4 separate regions of the Homo sapiens genome follow, and regions 2, 3 and 4 are each linked to region 1. The links are contacts of gene promoters, found by promoter capture Hi-C in human tissues and cell types (Jung and others, 2019). All regions are on one chromosome and are shown on one strand. Each heading gives the region's core, a stretch centred on a gene start or on the middle of the fragment in contact. The rest is flanking DNA. Distances are from core to core; before and after follow the strand shown.

Region 1 (5,687 bases), core at 1,775-4,274:
TTAAGCAGCAATGCTATGACATATGAGAAGTCCCTTAGCAGCAGCCACACAGCAGCTCAAAGGGAAGCTCCTCGGTGGCTCACCTAGGATAGAAAATTCCACCCAGTGCTGGGTGCGGTGGCTTATGCTTGTAATCCCAGCACTTCGGGAGGCCGGGACGGGCAGATCACTTGAGGTCAGGAATTTGAAACCAGCTTGGCAAACATGGTGAAACCCCGTTTCTACTTAAAAAAAAAAATTAGCTGGGTTTGTTGGCGTACACCTGTGATCCCAGTTACAGGCGAGGCAGAAGCAGGAGAATTGCTTAAGCCTGGCAGGCAGAGGCTGCAGTGAGCCCCGAGATCACGCCACTGCACTCCAGTCTGGGTGACACAGCAAGACTCTGGGAAAAAAGAAAGAAGGAAGGAAGGAAGGAAGGAAAGAAGGAAGGAAGGAAAGAAAGAAAGAAAGAAAGAAAGAAAGAAAGAAAGAAAGAAAGAAAGAAAGGAAGGAAGGAAGGAAGGAAGGAAGGAAGGAAGGAAGGAAGGAAAGGGAAGGGAAGGGAGGGAGGGAGGGAGGGAGGGAGGGAGGAAGGGAGGGTGGGAGCGAGGGAAGGGAGAGAGAAGAAGGGAAGGAAGGAAAGGAAGGAAAGGAAAGGAGAGGAGAGGAGAAAGAAAGAGAAAGAAAGGAAAGAAAAGGAAAGAAAGAAAAAGAAAAGAGAAGAAAGAAAGAGAAAGAAAGAAATTCCACCCAGTAAGCTTTGGGCAAAGGGCTGGACTGCTTTGAAGGCACCCTAAAAAAGGAAATGATGATGTGATGATGATGTGATGATGATGATGATGATGATGATGATGACGACGACGTTAAGTTCTCAAATGGTTCTTCCTGTGTTTCTCTTGTTTTTTTTTTTTCCTTTTGAGTACCATCCTCCAGAGAAGCTCACTACCTAGAGAAAAAAGCCTCAACAAAACGACAAATACTTCCTGGTGCCAACAAAGAAAAGCCCACACATGTCTTCCAGCAAAATCCACTTGCTGTTTGCATTTGTGATACGTCTTATTGTTTTGGAATGGCTTTTCCCTGAAATGTTTCCCCTCGGTCCTGTTCTCTATTCCTTTCTACTCTAATTTTCTATTCACTCCCAAGCTGGGGCAGGATGGGGGAAAAGAATGAAAGAAGAAACTATAAACAAAAATGGGAGTGCTTACGGTAAAATTATCTTCACTGTCATGTTCTGTCTCTCAGGGAAAAAAAAAATCACCATTTTGCTTTCTCCACTCTTGACTGTGAAGTTTAATATAAGGTATGGCTCAGTCTTTGTGATGATTCATAACCTGGCTCTAACCAACAAACCATTGGACCATCCTGCGCCTCATCTCTCTCCCCTACAGAGTCTCTCCTTACCTGTCTGGCTTTTGGGGTAAGTTCCTTTCAGCTGACTTCACCCTCGTTTTTCCCACTGTCTCTGTAACAAGGACTTTGAGTAGGACGCTGGAGGGTCCTCACTCACACCGCAGCCTCTACAGCTCCCATGCCCAGTGCCTTCAGATTGTTCCAGGGGTCCCTGCTTTCTTCTATCTCAGGGCCAGTAACTCACAGTGAGGGCACCTTCCGCAGGCTGAAGACAGCTTTGTCTCTTTCTCTTTGTTTGAGTGTTGATGTCCCAAAAGAATGATATCCATCCCAAAGTCCTCTATCAGATTTCTCCCAGGAGGCCCAAAGATTCTCATGTAAATTAGAGTCACATTTGACCTGTCCTGATGGGTGAATAAGCAGACCACTTTCTCCCAGTGGAGAAAGGGAGATTTTTTAATAGGCGACTTACTTTTCCTTGATCCCAGTCACAAACTCTTCCAAACTGACAGAGCTACATAGTAACCCACAAATCTAAGCAACTGTATGGGTGTGTGTGTGTTTGTGTGTGTGTGTGTGTATGTGTGTAAAATTGAGAGACTTTCTATTGTTCTTCAAAAGGTTGTAAAGACGTAACAAATGGGTTTCTCTTTACAGTTCCTTACACGTGGTCTCCCCAGAAAGCACTGAGGACTCTGATTCATCATGTCAAGCGGTCAATTAGAATCCGGGAAAGCCTCTCTCTGGCCTCACCTTACTTCCTGTACCAGGAGAGATGCTCATCAATAGTGAGAAAGAGTTGATGGGATTAGAGTCTGGAAGTGACAACCTCTCCTGAACCTGAACTCATTGATTTCTTCGTTTTACAAAACAGTGTTCTTGAAAAAAATAAACAAAAAAAGGAAATAATACAACTAAGAACTCCAAGGTCTAAATTTTAACCAGCTGTATCTCATAACAACAGAAGCTGCAATGGCCAACATACGTCATTTATAAAACGCCAACTTATGTGGATGGGGATTGGGATTTATTGGCCTAATGCAAAGAGCATATAAAAAATGAGTAGGGAAAAGACTACTGTTTGTGTATATATGTAATTATTACATATATTCTTAAATGATATTTAATAAATAATCAAATGATTAAATAATATATACTATATATACATGTTATATTTATATATGTATATGCTTCTCCAAATTTCTTTTTGCTAAAAAGCACTCAGCTGGGATTATGAAATCAGATGTCAAGATTAGAATATTAGCAGTCACTTTTTAAATCAGAACACAGAACAGATCCCTAGACTGAGCTGTTCCCAGAAAAAAGGTTTTCCCTCTCCCCAGACCAGGCAGGTAGGAATGTCTGCAGAGATCCCTGGACACACAGGGACCCCTGCCAAGCTTTTCCTGCTCTGTACATTGGGGAAGGGGACTACAAGTCAGCCCTGGTGGTATGGGGGAGGGGAGTGGTACCGCAGTGACAGGAATAATGCCACTGTCCTGCTGAGTGGGAAAGGAGAGGGCAGAACCCGGACTCGAAGGCCCACCTGTGGAGTGGGTCTGAGATTCCCAGCCTGTGTGTCTCGGTCAGCTTGTCTATTGTTATCAGATGTGGGCTGTGCCGCAGCATCTGTGACTTCATCCCGTGGTGGCTGGAGTCTGGGATAAAAGTCATGGTTGTCCCAAAGGTGCAGGCAAACTCCACCCCGGGGAGCTGTTGTGCTTGCATTGCTGGGCTGCTGATAGACTGATTGAGTGGTGGCGTGTACTTTTGTCACAAGAACCATAACCACAATGACAGCCACACAGCATGGACCTAGCGTGTGCTCAGCTCTGGACAAGACATGGATGTAGGCAGACATGCTTCCTGCCTGCTGGGCTTAGTGCACCAATGCTAAGGACAGACATGAAGGGCTTGGGAAAGGCATGAAGATGCAGGGAGTCTAGGAGAGAGGATAAGAAAAACAAGCATTTTGTGGTGGGTTGAATTGCGTTGTCGTTTTTAGAGGCATTTCGTGATCCATGGTTGCGCTCCCGTGAAGAGCGAGTCTAGAGAAGGAATCCGAAGGTGGGTGAGAGTTGAGGGAATTTGAATTCCATAATTACGACTCGAATTTCTGCAATCAGCTCGCGGCTGTGTTGCCTGCTCCTGCCACAAAAACGCCATGCAGCGCCGAGCCAAGTCGGATGGAAGTGGGTTAGGGTATTATATAAGCCCTTGCGGGAGGGAAGATGGTCTTTTATGTGTGTTTCTTTTGCAGCGGCGGCGGCGAGCGCGGCTCAGGTTGATTTAGAATACGGGTGACAGTGGCCTGGCGCGAGCCCACTGCTGACGAAAGCGGCTTATCCCGCGCGGTTTCCATGGAGACGAGCCGGAGCCGCGGCGGCGGCGGGGCTGTCAGCGAGCGCGGCGGAGCTGGCGCGTCCGTGGGGGTCTGCAGGAGGAAGGCGGAGGCCGGGGCCGGGACCGGGACCCTCGCGGCAGACATGGACTTGCATTGTGACTGTGCCGCCGAAACGCCGGCCGCCGAGCCGCCGTCGGGGAAGATTAATAAAGCTGCCTTCAAATTATTCAAGAAGAGGAAATCGGGTGGCACCATGCCCAGCATTTTTGGGGTCAAAAACAAAGGGGACGGGAAAAGCTCGGGTCCGACGGGGCTGGTGAGGAGCAGGACCCACGACGGACTTGCCGAGGTGCTGGTGCTGGAGAGCGGCAGGAAGGAGGAGCCGCGCGGCGGGGGCGACAGCGGCGGGGGCGGCGGGGGGCGGCCGAACCCGGGGCCCCCCAGAGCCGCAGGGCCCGGCGGGGGCTCCCTCGCCAGCAGCTCGGTGGCCAAGTCGCACAGCTTCTTCTCGCTGCTGAAGAAGAACGGGCGCTCGGAAAACGGCAAGGGAGAGCCTGTGGACGCGAGCAAGGCCGGCGGCAAACAAAAGCGGGGGCTGCGGGGGCTGTTCAGCGGCATGCGCTGGCACAGGAAAGACAAGCGGGCCAAGGCGGAGGCCGCGGAGGGGCGCGCGCCCGGGGGCGGCTTGATCCTACCCGGCTCGCTCACCGCCAGCCTGGAGTGCGTCAAGGAGGAGACGCCCAGAGCCGCGCGCGAGCCGGAGGAGCCCAGCCAGGACGCCCCGCGAGACCCAGCAGGTGAGCCCGCAGGGGGAGAGGAGGTGCCCGCCCCCGCCGACCGCGCCCCAGCGCGGAGCTGCCGAGAGGCAGAGGGCCTCGCGCACCCCGGCGACACCGGCGCCCGGGGAGAGGACGCCGCGGGGCATCGGCGCGCCGAGCCGGGGCCCGGGGAGGTCCGCACGGCAGAGGACGCTTCCAGGACGGGGGCCGTTCCCGTAAAGACGGTCCCCCTTGTCGACTCCGAAGGCGGCAGCGGCCGGGCGCCCGCCGCCCCAGACCCTGCCTCTGTCGATCCACCCTCAGACCCGTCGGCAGATCGTATTTGTTTGATGTTTTCTGACGTGACTTCACTGAAAAGCTTTGACTCTCTTACAGGCTGTGGAGATATTATTGCAGACCAAGAGGAAGAGGCAGGTCCCAGCTGTGACAAGCATGTCCCCGGGCCAGGCAAGCCGGCTCTGTCTAAAAAGAACCCCGGCGTGGTGGCCTACCAAGGAGGCGGGGAAGAGATGGCCAGCCCGGACGAGGTGGACGACACCTATCTACAGGAGTTCTGGGACATGCTCTCCCAGACCGAGGAGCAGGGACCCGAGCCCCAGGAGGGCGCGGCTAAGGTGGCAGCTGCGCTGGAAACCAAGGTGGTGCCCGAGACCCCCAAAGACACCAGGTGTGTGGAAGCGGCCAAGGACGCGTCCTCGGTCAAGCGCAGGAGGCTCAACCGGATTCCCATCGAGCCCCATCCTAAGGAGGAGCCCAAGCACCCGGAGAAGGAGCAGCAGGAAGGCGTCCCCAACAGCGACGAGGGCTACTGGGACTCCACCACGCCAGGCCCAGAGGAAGACAGCTCGAGCAGCGGGAAGAAGGCGGGCATCCCCCGGGATAGCTACAGCGGGGACGCGCTCTATGATCTCTATGCTGACCCGGACGGAAGTCCAGCAACCCTTCCTGGAGGGAAGGACAACGAGGAGACGTCCTCCCTGTCCCGGTTAAAGCCCGTATCTCCAGGCACCATCACCTGTCCACTGCGAACACCAGGCAGCTTGCTGAAGGACTCTAAGATCCCTATTAGCATCAAGCACCTGACCAACCTTCCATCTAGCCATCCCGTGGTGCACCAGCAACCCTCCAGGAGTGAGATGCCCAGAACAAAAATCCCGGTTTCCAAAGTGCTGGTCCGCAGAGTCAGCAACCGGGGCTTGGCTGGGACCACCATCAGAGCAACGGCCTGCCAC
Region 2 (5,687 bases), core at 1,034-3,533, 220 kb before region 1:
ATAGTAGTAAAAATATCTTATTATACATATGTACAGAGCCTGAAATTTATGTCTGCCACCTGTATTATTTTTTTTTCATATGCATTACTTCAGTTATGGATGAACATTTTACGGCAGACAGCACCCTTTTCTCTCATGAAGTCTTTCTTGGTCACCCTCATACCTGGTGAGAAGGATGCTCTTCTCTTTCCTGCCACTTCTCAACCTCACTGATAGCTCTTAACAGAGCTTATCATGTTGTATTGGAAATAATTCTGCAGACACCTTCCTCCCCTCCTGAGTTCCTCAAGGACAGGGACTAAGTCTCATTCAAATTTGTGTTTCCAGAAGTTTTAGTACAGGGCATGTAGTCAACAATGTTTATTAACATCTACTGTATGTCTAGCACTAGGGACACAGCAGTGAGCCAGGGGGAGCAAGGGCTGTCCCCATGCACCAGATGGCCCACAGTGATCACAACTGGGTAATTGTACATATGAAAGCTGTAACCCCAAAATAAAATTATAAGCTCCCCAACCGACTGAATGGATCCCCTCCCAGCCAAGGGGATTCCAAGAAGTACTGAAAAACTAGCTCAGGCCATGATAGGAAGGAGGGGGTCAGACATACCTCATTATACATTCTCTCTTTTGATGTTTAGGCGCAAATGACCATCATTAACATTAAAGTAGAGATCCAAAGACTGACAAAATAGACTCTTTTTAGCAATAAGACCCCAACTCCAGTCTGCTCTGGTGTAGCATCACATGACAGATAACAGGCTCTAAAGGTAATCAAAGTATTTACCCCAAAATATATTTTTTTGACATATTTTGGAATGGCCCTGCAAAGCCATCTCATGTGGGGAAAATTTACATTCTGTAAGGAATCTCCTTCCATTTCCAGGTCTTTTCCTGATCCAAGAGATTAACTAAGAGTCTGACACCTTTTAAGTTCTGATAAGAGACATTTACCATCTATTCTCCCTAAGGCTGCTACCTGGAGGCTTCATCTACATAACAGGACCTTGGCTTCCACAATCCCCCTTATCTTAACCCATGCATTTCTTCCCGCTGCCTTCAACAATTCAGGTGAAGCTGAACTCTTTCAACCAATTGTCAATCAGGAAATCTTTGAATCCACCTATGACTTGGAAGCCCCCACTTTGAGATGTCACAGTTTTCTTGGCCAAACCAATGTACACCTTATATGTATTGGTTTATGCCATTGCCTATAACTTCTAGCTCCCCAAAATGCATAAAATCAAGCTGTAACCCAGCCACCTTGGGCACATGTTCTCAGGACCTGATGAGGCTGTCACAGGTCATGATCCTCACATTTGGCTCAGAATAAACCTTTTCAAATATTTTACAGAGTCTGGCTTTTTTCCTCAACAAAGCATAATGACCAATAGTAAAGGAAAATTCTCAGGGTTTCCCAGTGAAGAGAAAAATGGGTCCCCAGAAATGGACCCATATTGCAAGCAGCCCGTCCTGGAGTGTGACTGTGCACTGAGTCAAGGTGGGTGAGGAGCAGAGAGGACCCCTCCACGCCTTATTAGGAAGTTGTGGTCATGGGCCAGCAGCAGCAGAGTAGGCAGGCTGAAAGGGACCTGAGCGTCACAGGATTTCAACCACTTGTTCATAGAGGCTGGTGTTTTATGACTTGACAGAAAAATATCAGTATATTGATGGTTTTGATAATTCATGTGGACTTTCACCAGGTCCTATAAGAAGGAGACAAGCCTTTTTCTAAGGTGCTATAGGACAACTGTCTGCATGGCCTTGGAGACCCAGCTCTTCCCCTCCTCACTGGTAGTTCCTAAGGACAACTGGAGAATGTGCTGGGAATGCGACAACCTGAGATAAGGAGGCACTGACCAGAACAGCCTAGGCTCTGTTCCCGTCTTCCTAGAACAGGATGTCCAGCAAGGCTTTATTTAACTCAGCGAAAACAGCCACCCCCACCCCCACCAAGGGGCACGCCTTTGGTGTCAAAGACAAGACTCCATCCGCCTTGGGCAGCTTTCCTGAACCCTGAGGGACTGGTCCGCCATGGGCCCAGGCTTCTACCATCTCTTGCTGCCTATCTGTGAGTAATAAAGCTGCTTTGCTGAAAGCTTGCTGTGTGAGTGTTCTGTCTCACCACAGTCATGCCAGTGGATTGATAACATTGCATATATTGGCAAAGTTTTTAGAGTCCTCCCCGCAATAGATGTGTCTGAAAAGCCTGAAAGTAGAAAGGAAAGGAAATGCATACTTGCTAGTGGCAGGCGCTCGCCCACAACTAAGAGTCAGTGTTAAAAACATGAAATTTCCAGCCCCAAAATAGAGTTCGTGAGAGCAAAGATTGGGAACATGAAGATAGTAATGCACCCAAGAGCACCCTCATGATTGCAGGCTACCCGGGGTCAAGGGCAAATTAGGCCATGTTCCTAGAGGTAAGAGCCAGGACAGAAGCCGGCTGGGACTGAGAAAACAATACCCTAAAATCAAGGCCTCAGAAGCAGAAGTTTCTCTCTGACCTTCTTTTGCCCTATTGTCTCTCAGTCCCATCATCCCCCAGGCTAGCCATAAAAACTAGAATCCCTCTTCCTCAAGGTAGGTCATAGAAACTAGAACCCCTTTTCCCCAAGGCCAGCCATAAAACCTAAAAAAAGCACTCTAACTTTTCCTCTTTCTGTGTAAAAACTGGCCATAAGAAAGTTATCTGACCTACCTTGTTTGACTGTAGGCCCTAAGTTCCTCATTGCAGAGAGGATCCCACTCCACACCAAGAAGGAAGATAGGCTGCTCCAAGAGAACGAGAAGAATCCAGACAGGCAGGCCTTGCTGGGTTTCCCCACTCAGTCTATTAACATTGGATCAGGGCTGGGCGTGGTGGCTCACACCTGTAATCTCAGCACTTTGGGAGGCCAAGGCGGGCAGACCACGAGGTCAGGAGATCAAGACCATCCTGGCCAACATGGTGAAACCCCCTCTTTACTAAAAATAAAAAAATTAGCTGGGCATGGTGATGCACACCTGTAGTCCCAGCTACTCAGGAAGCTGAGGTAGGGAAAGCTCTTGAACCCAGGAGACGGAGGTAGCAGTGAGCTGAGATTGCGCCACTGCACTCCAGCCTGGGGACAGAGTGAGACTCCGTCAAAAAAAAAAAGAAAGAAAAATTGGATCAGCCAGACACAGTGGCTCGTGCCTGTAATTCTAGCACTTTTGAAGACTGAGGCAGGGCGATCACTTGAGGCCAGGGGTTTGAGACACCCCTGAGCAACATAGCAAGACCCCATCTCTACAAAAAAATTCAAAAATTAGCCAAGCATGGTGGCACATGCCTGTAGTTCTAGATACTCAATAGACTGAGCTGGGAGGATCGTTTGAGCCCAGGAGTTCAAGGCTGCAGTGAGCTATGATTGCACCTTTTCTGTCCAATCATCTCTCTTCCTGGCTCTCCATACTTTGTTAAACCTAAGCATAAAAATGGACAATTTTCCTTTATCTTTTGGTCTTTATTCTGAAGGCTCCCATGTATACGTTAATAAATGTGTATGCCTTTTCTCCAAGTAATCTGCCTTTTTTGAGTAGATTTTTTCAGCAAACTTTCAGAGGGCGAAGGGAAAGCTTTCCCTTGACCCCTACAAGCCACAGAACTGAAGGTGAGGATGACAAGCAGAGTCTCAAGGCATTTTTAAAAAAGACAGAAGCCCCCTCAGGCCCAAGACAAGATCTCTGGCTTTGGTAACTAAGTGGACACATTGCAGATGGACCAGCAGCCTACTGAGGGATGACCAGAAGAATGCCAATAGTGGGTGGAAAACCCTGCCCCTCTACCATCCTAGGTTCAGGAGCGAGGGCCCTGCTAATCAAACTGAAAAAAGACAAATGAAGAGAAGAAAAGACATGCAAATTTTATTTGACATCATAGTTTTAGGAAGACATAGAGTCTTTGTATGTATATAGAGAGAGACCCAAAGAAGTACATAGGCTAGAGAGCTTACATACTACTTCAACAAAGAATGATAAATTGTGAAGCTGTGACAAGACAAAGGAAAAGGGAAGGCTTCTAAGGGCAATAAATTGTGGGAGGGTAAATATGTGGGGAAATTAATGGAAGATAAGGCTGCTTTAGTAAGGCTTGTCATGCAGGCTCCACTCACTGCTCTGGGCTGATAAGACTCTAGTCATCTCAGGTGACGAAGAGTTATTGTGCTTTTTCTGGTATGGGAGAGGGAGACACTTTTACAAATGGAAATTTATGTTCTGTTTTTAGCCAGATAGGGGAAGGACAGTAAGCCTTTTTTTTTCCTTTCTGCATCTGATGTTTCTTAATTGCCTTCAGCTCAAAATAACCCTTAGTCCAAAAGGCATATTTCAGGGTGACATATTATGGTCCCCTTCACAGGCCTGGCAAGCCTAGATCTGACCTATGTCATCAATCCGGCCAGCAATTGGTCTCTGCCGCCTCCTGCTTTGTCTTTATCTTCCTCTTCTGGTTGGTTGCCCCTCAGGCTCGGGGGCACAGCCTGGATTCAGCCTGCCACATCCTAGTTAGACTTGGAGTTTTATTTTGTCTTGGTTTTCAGTTTGCTTCTTTTATTTTGTTTTCTATTGTTAAGTAAAACACAGATACCAAAAATTACACAAAGCAAGTTTATGTCTTAATGAATTATCCTGAGCAACATCTTTGTTGATGCCTGCCTGAATCCAACTTCCCTGCATCACTGCTAGCCAGTAATGAGCTCTCCTTCCACTAGACTCTCAGCCTACCAATGGCCAGAACAGGCAGACATGTCTAATCACACTATAGAGAACAAGCCAAGCTCATCTACAGGCTGTAAACTCCACCTAAAATACTGAAACCATCCATCAGAATCTTTACAACCTGCTTTAAAGATGCACTTACAAGGTGATGACAGTTACAGTGATCATTCACTTCATTTTTTTAAAACAACCAGGACAATAAAACAGTACTTATAGAATAACTATCAAAAGCTAGGCAGTTTGCAGTTCCTCTCATTGATCCTAAGATAATATTCCTGTTTTATAGGTTACTACACTGAGTCTTGGATAAGTTTCATAGTTTTCCCAAGATCCCATGATCAATGTTCAAGATTCAACCTCAGTCTACCTGATGCAGAACTCTGGACCCTTCCCAGCTAACCCCACTGTCTTATGTCAGATTGTCAATAAATGTGTACTGAGCATGTATTATAGTCAAGGCATGCACAACATAAAATGAACCTCAGATTCCTAAGATGCTGTAAGTTATATAGAGGAGTCAAAAAGTATATAAATAGGGGCTGGGCACAGTGGCTCATGCCTGTAATCCCAGCACTTTAGGAGGCCGAGGCAGGCAGATCACCTGAGGTCAGGAGTTCAAGACCAGCCTGGCCAACATGGTGAAACCCCATCTCTACTAAAAATACAAAAGTTAGCTGGGCATGGTGGTACATACCTGTAATCCCAGCTACTCTGGAGGCTGAGGCAGGAGAGTCACTTGAACCCAGGAGGCAGAGGTTGCAGTGAGCTGAGATTGCACCACTGCACTCCAGCCTGGGTGACAGAGTGAGACCCTGTCTCAAAAAACAACAATAAAAAAAGTATGTAAATAGGTTGGGTGAGGTGGCTCACACTGGTAATCCCAGTACTTAGCCAGGAGTTTGAAATTAGCCTGGGCAACATAGTGAGATCCCATCACTACAAAAAATAAAA
Region 3 (5,687 bases), core at 1,380-3,879, 200 kb before region 1:
GGAACACTTACTTCTGAATGCAAAACCTCTGAATCAAAATTAAGGAGCCTGCCTTAACATTCTCTGCAAAAGAGGAGAAAAGAAAAGAATATTTCTCCTATCTGGAGTATTTCTTCTCTCCTGCCTTTATTTAAAAAGAAAAGTATACAAATATGCATATAGAATTTTTAAATGGGAGGCAATAATAATATATTTCTCAGAGGGATGGTGTGAGGATCCGTAAGAAAAATATGCGAAAAACACTAAAGGCATATTAGTAATTACCTTTATTATCTTTGTTCTCACAGCACCAGACTCACTTCCTTTGCTCTCTTCCCAACAGCACTGCCTGCCATCAGTGGCGCAGTATCAGGTGGGCAGAGCTGCAGAGTAGCTAGGACAGCAGGGCCGGAGACAGCCAAGTGCTGTCAGTTATGCAGGCTAGTGAGGAATATGTGGAGGAGGTGCTTCACTCGCAGTTTTGGAACCCTGTAGCTATTCACCCTGTATATGGAACAGATGCTAAAAAGAAAAAAACATGTCAGCTTGGAAAGCAGAAACTCATACTAACCAACTCTGAAGTGAGAACTCCAGTGAAAGCCAAAAATAACAAAGTTCTCTTCTCTGTGACAAGAAAGGGGTATTAAAAATTCAGGCAACCTGAAACAAACCAATCAAAATGGCATAAATCTTCCTGCAATATTTTACCATATTCCTGAATGCAGCTTTTTCTACACTCACCTGGGAATGATTGTGATGGAAAGCAAAATGGGCAGTATTTATAAACTAATGATTACAAAAAAAAAAATGCAAAACTCTGGAAAAAAAACAGAGTTAATGAGGATTAGATCACTTTTTAGCATGAAATATTATATGATAAGCTTTACAGGGGCAGTAAGGGAGGGAAGAAATGAACCGTCAGAGCAAGAGACCTATTCACATAAACAAGCACACATGTATCTATGGTAATATTGGGCCCAGTAACCCTCCCCCACCACAGCTGGGGAGTGACCAGCATCATTCATGTGCTCTTTTTTTTTTTCTTTAGAGGAAGGGTCTCGCTCTGTTGTCCAGGCTGGAATGCACTGGTGCAGTAGCTCATTGCAGCCTCAAATTCCTGGGCTCAAGCAATCCTTCTGCCTCAGCCTCTCAAGTAGCTGGGACTACAGGCATGTGCCACAATGCCTGGCTATTTATAATTTTTTTGTAGAGATGGGGTCTCACTATGTTGTACAGGCTGGTCTCGAACTCCTGGCCTCAAGTGAACCTCCCACCTGGGCCTCCCAAAGTGCTGAGATTACACACGTGAGCCAACAGGCTTGGCCATTCAAGTACTGTTTTGTTTTGTTTTGCTTTGTTTTGTTTTGTTAGAGAGAGAGTCTCACCCTGTTGCCCAGACTGGAGTGCAATGGTGCAATCTTGGCTCACCACAACCTCCACCTCACAGACTCAAGTCATTCTCCTGCCTCAGCCTGCCGAGTTACAGGGATTACAGGCACGCACCATTACCACTTGGCTAATTTTTGTACTTTTAGGGTTTCACTATGTTGGCCAGGCTGGTCTTGAACTCCTGACCTCATATGATCCACCCGTCTCGGCCTCCCAAAGTACTGGGATTGCAGACATGAGCCACTGTGCCCAGCCATCCAGGTACTTTTACGACAGATCTATGCAGGCAGACCCAGGCAGCCACTGGGGTGTGACAGGTCCCCACTCCTTACTCTATTCCTGGAAGGGCTCTCTCCTGTCCTGGAGTAGGTCCTGTTTCTGTGTTTGCCCTTGATAATGATGGGGAGAAACTCCCAAGGCATGGAAGTGAGATCACTTTTATTTTTAGCCCTTCTTAATGGTTGTTAACATTTGTGCTGAGCACTTTTCCCAGCCTAAGTGGATGTAAATAACATCTTGTATCCAGTGTGGTATTGACCAGAAGTTATATTTAGTAAATGTAAAGATCCAAGGAGGAAGAATAGAGACCCTTCTTTAGAGGCACTGTATACACTTCGTCTCATAAATGCTTAAAAACTTTTTCGAAAATAACTGTAAAATATTCCATTTGTCTAGCTGGCACCTCTGAGGAGGGTTTAAGATAACACATCCGTTGTAAATGTAAAATCAATTACTGGACAACGGAAGGCGTCCGCAGAGGTGCTTATTGGCCACCTGTGGGGTAGAAGACGGCCTTGTAGTCAGGACTTCTTTCAACAGAAGGTGATGACCTTCAGAGCCACTACAGGATGAACACTCTGTCCAGAATCAGAGCTCCTGGTGAGTAAGCGCTTATTTCTGCAATCATTTACACCTGGATAATGACAGTAAAAGAACATTTAAATTCTCCTGTGATGACTATGAGGTCCTCTCCTAGTTAGGCCTCCATCATTAGATTTAGAAAGGAAAATAATAACAAAAGTTTTGCCAATTCTTCTATTACATAGGATAAATACCTAGCTGGAGGACTTTGCCTTAGATGACGATGGGCAGCATGGGAGAAATCTAACATGTTGTCGATATCATCTTGATAATGTGTCAGTTAGTGCATGCACTTATATGCACATACCCACAGACCACTACCAACCACCCATGAAGTGCAAATTCTTATTTTTATCTTTATCTGTAACAGAGGTAAATGAATCTTTTGAATGCCATATAGGTAGAAATGACAGTGTTAAAACCTGAATTCAATTCTCTTTAACCCTAAATTCTGGGGTTTTAACCCCTAGATATACTGCCCTTAAGAAACTTCCAAACAGAATCTAGACCATTAGACCAAGTCCAAAAACTGCCCATGACAGAGTTCAGTAAAATCTGTAATTACTGAGCACACAAAGGGTAGTATAGGAAATGGAAGCAGGAGAAATTAGATTATTATCTTTATTTCTTATCAAGGAAGAGAAAACCATATAGAATCAATGAGCGTATTCTGTTGCATTTAGATCTGATATTGAACTAGGCAGGTGGGCAATGATAAGAACCACACTGGACTTGCTAATTAGCTTGTCCTGACAGAAATTAAGCAGCAAGTAAGGAATTTCTCCGAATTTTTTTTTCATTTGTAAAGTGAAGGGATCAGACCATCTCTGAGATATCCTCCAGCTATTACATTCTCACATTAGCACGGCTTGTATTTTCAGCTGCCCTGATTCTCCTCCTTGAAACTTGGGGCAGGTTGTTCTGGCAAAAACAGAAAACACACATTAAAAAATACCTTTGATGACCAGCAGAGGGCAGGGTGAGTTGGGTGTGGAATTTAGAGGAGGGCTCCAGGGGCAGTTTCTAGAAGGTTTGTAGTCCTGGTCCAAACGGTGGCTCACGCCTGTAATCCCAGCACTTAGGGAGGTCGAGGTGGGTGGATCACGAGGTTAAGAGATCGAGACAATCCTGGCCAACATGGTGAAACCCCGTATCTACTAAAAATACAAAAATTAGCTGAGTGTGGTGGTGGGAGCCTATAATCCCAGCTACTTGGGAGGCTGAGGCAGCAGAATTGCTTGAACCCGGGAGGCGGAGGTTGCAGTGAGCCGAGATCACACCACTGCACTCCAGCCTGACGACAGGCTCAAAATAAAAAAAAAAAAAGAATATTTGTAGTCCTCTGGGTTCTGCACTTGGTCTGTGCACTTCCTGCCTGCCCGTTCTTTCACTAAGTCCAGAAATGCGGTAAGATAGGGAAGAGCTTCTGCCATAGACAGCACTGATGCTGTCGTCCATAGAAAACAACTTCCTTCCTTTCTGTCCCCACTCCTCCCCTCCCACAACCCCCAACACCCATATTCACATGTACACCCTTAATTTCCTTACTCATCTGGGTCAAGGTGAGAGAAGAGAGTTGAGAGCTCTTCCCACGTGCACTGTAGTCACTGCCTAGACCATAAGCTCTGTGAGACACACTGCTGTGTTCCCTGCTCTGTCTCTAGCACCTAGAACCATGCCGGGCACATAGAAGGCACTGATATATATTTGTCACTGACTTTGTTTCCATTCTAAGGGGCTCCACCCTGAGCAGACTGTAAGCACTATACGGGCAAGAGGATCCCCATGGTCACAAATCTTTGGATTTTCATCATTTGGTAAAATGAGACACACTGGCACCAAGTAGATATTTGGGGAAAGCTAAAACTGATCAAAGTGCAATTGAATATGCAGAACAAGATAAGAGTCAAAGATGGCTCAGACAAGAAAATATTCCAGAATTATTTTTAAAAATAGTATACAGCTCAGCATATACTCTTGAAGCTGACTGTGATCTGCAATCCTTTCATCATTAGTTTATTTTTTAATAATGAGAAGTAGCAGACTTCACTAAAAATCACACATCTTTGTTTAGTATTTTTATGGGAGTACACGATTGTCAGGCCCTCTGCCCCTGTTTCCATCAGTGTCCCCAGGAGCCCACACTATGCAGATCCTCTTTCTTCTCCATACATTATGCAAATACCCTAAACAGGCCCCATCTCAGAGCCTCCACTCTGTCTCCTGGAACTTTCAGCCTATCATCAGCAAGATCCCTCACAACCCGACCCCTCTGACTATTCCTGAAACTTCTTGCCTTAACTGCTCTGCCAGGAGGACCCTGCTTCTCACGGTTACTCTCAGATCACTGCCTTCCCCCCTGCTCCCTAAAAGCTTCCTGCGTTGATGTTCATGCCGTCAGACTGTAGAACAGTCTCAAAACAAAGCGACCTCTCTTGAACTCACATTTTCCTCCAGCTACCACTCGATCTGCTTCTCCCCCTGCCTTTTCTGCAATATTCACTCAAAAGAGTTTTCCGGACTTGCTGTTTCCAGTTCCTGTCCTGTTACTCTTACACCTGCTCTATTAGGCGTTCTTCCCCACAATGATATGTTAACAGCTCTTTTCAAGATCACCAGTGACCTCCACTTACATGACAGTTCTCCAGCCTCATCTTTATTGAGCTCAGCAGCACTGGGCACAGGTACACCCCACCCCTTCCTGAACATCTCCACACTGAGTTTCAGAGCACTCCCTCCGGGTTTCCGGGGACCTCCCTGGCCATCCTCTCAGGCCCCTTCTGTTGACCCTCATCTCCCTAACCTCAAAATGTTAGAGTGCCCAGGACTCTATCCAAGGACCCCTCTTTTCTAAGTCACATCTGTACACATTGACAGCTGATCACATAATTCTTAGGGGCCCGTGTAAAATGAAAAGGTGGGCCCCTTGTTCAAAAATTAAGACTTTCAAGACAGCAACACTGGGCAGAACATCCAAGCAAGTGCTGACTCTTGTAAGAGCCAGACTCTGAGCAGCTGCAGGGCATACACTCTTGGAGCCGGTCCTGCCGACGACTCTTGAATCTCTATGTCTGGCCTTGCACACTCCCCGGAGCCCCAGACTCATAAATCCAGCTCTCTACTAATCATCTCCTCTTGGATCTATGGTAGGCATTTCAGACCAAATTCTTCACACCCTCCCTTACCGCAAAAGAGAACCCTGGTCCTCCGCAGTTTCCCCATCTCAGCAAGGGGTGCATTCTTCCGGTGTCTCAGACCAAAACCCTTGGGGGCATCTTTGATTCTTTTCTTGTACTGAAGCCCCACATCCAAATCATAAGCAAATGCCTTTGGCCCCACCTGCAAAGGTACAGAGGGTGTCCCCAGGTCTCCTCAGGCTGCCTCCACCTTGGGAAATTCTCACACCTGTATGACTGCGCCCTCCCACTGTCTCTCTGCCACAGCTCTTCCCTGCTATT
Region 4 (5,687 bases), core at 1,763-4,262, 140 kb after region 1:
ACAGAGTAACTTCCCAGTCCCTTAATTTTCTGTCTTGCTTTTCAGGTATCTCTCCACTCTCCTCCGCATCCAGTACATCACCGCCATGGGCTGAATGTTTGTGTCCCGGCAAATTTCTGTGTTGAAATCTAAGCCCCAAGATGATGGTATCAGAGATGAGGGCTTTGGCAGGTGGTTAAGCCGTGAAGACAGAGGCCTGATGAAAGGGGTTGGTGCCTTTAGAAAAGAGGCCTCAGATAGCTGTCCCGTCCCTTCTACCATGTGGGAATGAAGAGAGACAGTATCACCTGTGAACCAGAAGGTGGCGCTCACCAGACATTGAATCTGCTGATGCAGTGTTCTCGGATGTGAACCAGAAAATCTGAGACGGGTCTTAGTTAATTTGGAAAGTTTATTTTGCCAAGGTTGAGGACGTGCTTGTGACACAGCCTCAGGAAATCCTGATGACATGTGCCCAAGGTGGTCAGGGCACAGCTTGGTTTTATACATTTAGGGAGACATGAGGCATCAATTAATATATGTAAGAAACACTGGTTCGGTCTGGAAAGGCGGGAAAACTTGAAGCAAAGGCAGGAAGGCTGGAAGCAGGGAGGGAGCTTCCAGGCCACAGATAGGTGATACACAAATGGTTACATCCTTTTGAATTTCTCATTAGCCTTTCCAAAGGTGGCAAATCAGATATGCATCTATCTCAGTGAGTAGAGGAATGGCTTTGAATAGAATGGGAGGCAGGTTTGCCCTAAGCAGTTCCCGGCTTGAGTTTTCCTTAGTGATTTTGGAGTCCCAAGATATTTTCCTTTCACATGGACTTCCCAGCCTTTAGAACTGTCAGAGATAAATGTCTGTTGTTTATAAGCCACCCAGTTTATGGCATTTTGTTATAGCAGCCCAAACCAAATAAGAAGACCGCCAGCCAGTTCTACCTAAACAGTCCCTCCATGTGTCCACCATCCTGAGTCCCCATTACCACGCCTTGTCCAGACCCCAGCATTTCTGTGACTTGATGCAATATAAGTTTACTGCCTAAATAACAGGTACAGGACTTTGTGTGGACAAATGTGCTCTTTTCTCCTGGGGTAATATCTACGTACAAATGACTGGGTCACGTGGTAGGTATTTTTAACTTTTTAAAAAACTACCAAACTGTTTTCCATAGTCTTTGCACCATTTCACTTTCCCACCAGCAATGAATGAGTGTTCCAGTAACTCTGCATTCTCAACAGCACTTGTTATCATCAGCACTTGTTATCATCACCTTAAAGAGTTTCAGCCATTCTAAAGGTGTGTAGTGGTTTTCTCCCCACCTTTTAATTTTCTTAATAGTGCCCTTCAAAAAACAGAAGTTTTTAATTTTGATGAAATCTAGTTTACCAATTGTTTTCTTTTATGGATTGTGCTTTTTGTTGTTACATGTATGAAATCTTTGCCTAACCCGAGAGTGCAATATTTTTTTTCCATGTGTTCTTACAGAAGTCTTATATATCTATGTTTTACATTTAGGTCTACGATCAATTTCAGTTAATTTTCATATAGGGCCTAAGATATGGATTCAGGTTCATTTTCTGGCACATGAACATCCATCTGTTCCAGCACCATTTGGTGAAAAAATGATACTTTTCCATTGAATTACTTTTGCATTTTTATTGAAAATAAGACAAAATTCCAAATACCATAATCCTGAATGCTAAAATCCCAAAAGATCAAAGATCCTAAAGTATAAATCCCTAAAGTCTAAAATTCTGAAAATCACAATCACAGGATAGGGTTTTTTTTCCTTTTCTTCTATTTTTTTCACTATTTTAAATAGCAAAACAATTCACTATGCTATATATTTCATCGTTGCATCATTTCCAAAACTTGACGTATAGGTTGTGCAGAGACGTTTAGAGAGTCCTAATTTGTTTCATGCATTTTTTTGCAAATGTGACTCCATGAAAGTTCATTATCTCAATGTTGATTTTGTGTATAAACATTGTGTATGTACATGAAAACATTGAAACCTCCTCAGTGATGTCCTTTTTGTACACCTGCATTTGTAAAAGACAACATTTTTTGAGATCTCAGCTCTTTGGGTGACTGCATATGTAGTGGTAATCCATTGTGGTTTTTGATCAATCTTGTCAAAAGACTTCGGTTTTTTATCACAGTATTTCAGATGAGCACATATACAAAGCTGGTTGCACACAATTACCAATCATAGTGATATGTGTTTACACATTTTCCTTTTGACCTACTTCTTTAGGAATACAGTTTATCTGCTCATAAATGCTATATCTGTGCCAGGTATAGTCGTATACCTGAGTATTTATTCTTGCAAAAACATGTACGCTAGTATTGCTTCTTTTATTGTGTAAAGCGGCCTATGAAGTGTTCTGTTGTGTTTTTATATGTTTCTCAAATAAATCCCCCCCTCCCTTTTTTTTTGAGATGCAGTCTCATGTTGTTGCCAAGGCTGGAATGTAGTGGTGTGATTTGGGCTCACTGCAAACTCCGCCTCCCGGATTCAAGCGATTATCCTGCCTCAGCCTCCCGAATAGCTGGGATTACAGGCATGCACCACCAGGCCGGGCTAATTTTTGTATTTTTAGTAAAGATGGAGTTTCACCATGTTGGCCAGGCTGGTCTTGAACTCCTGACCTCAGGTGATCCACCTGCCTCAGCCTCCCAAAGTGCTGGGATTACAGGAGTGAGCCACTGTGCCCACACCCACTCCCCTTAAAATGTAAGTAAATATCTTCAGGAATTTTTAAAATTATTTTTTCCAGAATTATATTTTCAGGATTTTGGATTTTAGGGATTTTTGATCTTTCAGAATTTTAAGAGCTGGGATTGTGTCTTTCAAGACTGCTTCTTCAGGGACTATGACGGGCTTCCCTCTAGACAGCATGGGCTAGGAAGCATGTTCTGGAATGTGACATTTAAGCTGAGAACTGAATTGTACAAAAAACCTAGCCACGCCAATTACCCTAAGTGAATTAATGCAAAAATAGAAATCCAAATACCACATGTTTTCACTTATAAGTGGGAGGCAAGCATTGGGTGCACAGGGACATAAAGATGGGAAAATAGACACTGGGGATTCCAAAAGGCAGGAGGAAGGGAGAGGGTTGAAAACTTACCTATTGGGCACTGTGTTCACTATCTGGGTGATGGGATCAGTTGAAGCCCAAACCTCACTGTCATGCAATAAATCCTTGTAACAAACCACTCACGTAGCTCCTGAATCCAAAAGAAAAAAAAAACCAAAAAACAATATTAACTTTTACCCGAAAACCACCTAGCCACAGAAACCAGGGGGCAGTGGTGGAGAGGAGGCCCCAGGAGGATTCTAGGTGAGGTGGCTGGACATGCAGAAGCCCTGCTGGGGAAGGAAGAGGTTTTGTGTTTAGGAAGTGAAAGCCCAGGTAGCTGAGCTGTGGCGAGCCGGGAAGAATGAAGGGATGAGACAGCAGAGACACAGGCTTCGGTTCTGGGGGTCCTGCTGCTGCCCCACCTCCTCAATGGTCCTCCTGGCCCCTCTCTGCTAAGCAGGAAGCAATGGCATCTTTTTTTTTTTTTCTTTTTTTGAGACGGAGTCTGGCTCTGTCGCCCAGGCTGGAATGCAGTGGCGCAATCTCGGCTCACTGCAAGCTCCGCCTCCTGGGTTCACACCATTCTCCTGCCTCAGCCTCCCGAGTAGCTGGGACTACAGGCGCCCGCCACCACGCCCGGCTAATTTTTTGTATTTTTAGTAGAGACGGGGTTTCACCGTGTTGGCCAGGATGGTCTCGATCTCCTGACCTCGTGATCCGCCTGCCTTGGCTTCCCAAAGTGCTGCGATTACAGGCATGAGCCACCGCGCCCGGCCACAATGGCATCTTTTACCCATGAAGTTGTCGGCACAGTTGGGAAATAGCAGGCAGTTCCAGCGGAGTTTCTCAAGGCTTGGATTTGGCTAGGAAGTTAGGCGGTAGTGGGGACAGACTCAGAGGTTTTAGGAATGACCACCCTGTTTCCAGTATGTAGGAAAATGACTTCTTGAGACAGAAAACTCTGAAATTCTTTTTTTTTTTTTTTTTTCAGATGGAGTTTCGCTCTTGTCACCCAGGCTGGAGTGCAATGGTGTGATCTCGGCTCACTGCATCCTCCGTCTGCTGGGTTCAAGCGATTCTCCTGCCTCAGCCTCTCAAGTAGCTGGAATTACAGGTGCCCGCCACCATGCCCAGCTAATTTTTGTATTTTTAGTAGAGACGGGGTTTCGCCACGTTGGCCAGGCTAGTCTCGAACTCCTGGCCTCAGGTGATCCACCCACCTCAGCCTCCCAAAGTGCTGGGATTACAGGCATGAGCCACCACACCCGGCTGAAATTCTTTTTGTTTTATTTTTGTCAAACTTGGTGGCAGAGTGTGCAAAAGAACAGAATGAGGTTTTGGAAATGTTGGATTTGTAGTATTTTTGTGATGTCCGGTTGAAGATGTGAGGCAGCCAGTTACAATTGTGGATCTGCAGCCTGTGGGAGAGCCCTGGGTTATTGGTGTGAATTCAGGACTTGGTGGTGGGTTCCTTTCCTGTGGTTGCTGTAACAAAGGACCACAGCACAGCGGCTTGAGCAACAGATGCCTTCTCCTTCATGGCTCCGGAGGCAGAAAGCCTGCGGGCGAGGTGTCATCAGGCTTCTCCTAGGGCTGTGAGGGGCCTGCTCCAGGCCTCCATCCTCACTTCCGGCAGCCTTGGGCACTCCTGGGCTTCTAGGTGGCCACCTTCTCCCTGGGTCATTATGTCGTCTTCCTCTGTGTGGTTCTGCCTCTGCATCCAAATTTCCCTGCTCTGTAAGGACCCTGGATTATGCCCCACCCCAATCACCTAAAGCTTACCTGCATCCTCTGCAGATACCTTTTTTCTAAATGGGCCACATGGATAGGTACTGCGGGCTAGGACTTCAATGTCTTTTGGGGGACACAATTCTACCTCTAGCAGATGGTGATGCAGCTGTAAGCCTGGGTGACATCACCTGGAGAGAGTTAGGGGTAAGAGCAGAAGAGGCCACGTGCCCAGCCTGGAAGAACTGTGTGAGTTCATAATAACAGTGGCCAAGGAGGGGAGAGAGGAGAGAGGCGAGGGGAGCAGGCAACAGGGAAACACAGAGGCGGCAGCCCAGAGCTCGGAGGAGGAGAGGCTGTGAAGGAGGGTGAGGTATAGTCTCAAATGCTGCTGAAAGGTTAAGTATGTTGCAGTAATTTGAAGGCTAAAACATGCCATTGGATTTCATAGTCAGGCATCACCTGTGCCCTGTGCCTGAACTGCTGTGGTGTAGATGAGCCTGGCTGAGGAAGCAGCCAGCCAGAGGGGAAGGAGTGGAGCCAGGCTCCGGGCCTGCTTAAGGGTTGGAAGAGGGTAGACCAGCTGCCAGAAGGCGCATGGGCTCGGGCAGGGAGAGGCTTTTAAAAACGGGAGGGATCTTAGAAGAAAGAGGATCCAGTGGGTTGGAGAAAGTAAAGGGGTCAGCACGGCAGGTCCGGGAGTTGAAGGAGCAGCGGTGAGGGCTGACTGAGCAAGCGATCTGCGATCTGCTGGGAGAGGCTCCGGCGCTGATCCCATAGATTCGCAGCGATTTCGGAAGATGAGTCCGGGGTGTGGCTGTGGGAAGGATGGTCAGACATATTTTTCCTCTATTGTATTAATGTCTTATGTGAAGATGGAGTAACCTC

The links. Contacts are between HindIII fragments. The study calls those that stand out against the background at their distance.
Region 2: a fragment that was not itself captured here is called in contact with the fragment with the promoter of AMER2 in region 1 in 2 of the 25 tissues and cell types used here (IMR-90 fibroblasts and spleen).
Region 3: a fragment that was not itself captured here is called in contact with the fragment with the promoter of AMER2 in region 1 in 2 of the 25 tissues and cell types used here (dorsolateral prefrontal cortex and spleen).
Region 4: a fragment that was not itself captured here is called in contact with the fragment with the promoter of AMER2 in region 1 in 1 of the 25 tissues and cell types used here (spleen).

Annotation. Positions count from the first base shown.
Region 1 is chr13:25,169,625-25,175,311 of GRCh38, reverse strand. AMER2 (APC membrane recruitment protein 2) reads left to right here and starts at 3,024. Exons shown (of 1, transcript NM_152704.4): 1 at 3,024-5,687. The coding sequence starts at 3,693. LINC00463 (long intergenic non-protein coding RNA 463) reads left to right here. Exons shown (of 4, transcript NR_120428.1): 3 at 1,225-1,399; 4 at 1,990-2,488. RefSeq lists an enhancer at 966-2,165 and a silencer at 4,445-4,534. The HindIII fragment of the contact is 4,196 bases long and covers 1,736-5,687 here.
Region 2 is chr13:25,393,302-25,398,988 of GRCh38, reverse strand. The region is part of intron 1 of ATP8A2 (ATPase phospholipid transporting 8A2); the gene reads right to left. Among named protein-coding and RNA genes, the nearest start is that of ATP8A2, 24 kb to the right of the region's middle. RefSeq lists enhancers at 483-1,084, 1,085-1,686. The HindIII fragment of the contact is 4,979 bases long and covers 1-4,772 here.
Region 3 is chr13:25,373,454-25,379,140 of GRCh38, reverse strand. The region is part of intron 1 of ATP8A2 (ATPase phospholipid transporting 8A2); the gene reads right to left. Among named protein-coding and RNA genes, the nearest start is that of ATP8A2, 4.3 kb to the right of the region's middle. The HindIII fragment of the contact is 5,148 bases long and covers 56-5,203 here.
Region 4 is chr13:25,032,022-25,037,708 of GRCh38, reverse strand. LOC105370119 (a long non-coding RNA gene) reads left to right here. Exons shown (of 3, transcript XR_941760.4): 3 at 1-3,207. Among named protein-coding and RNA genes, the nearest start is that of PABPC3, 61 kb to the left of the region's middle. The HindIII fragment of the contact is 8,497 bases long and covers 1-5,687 here.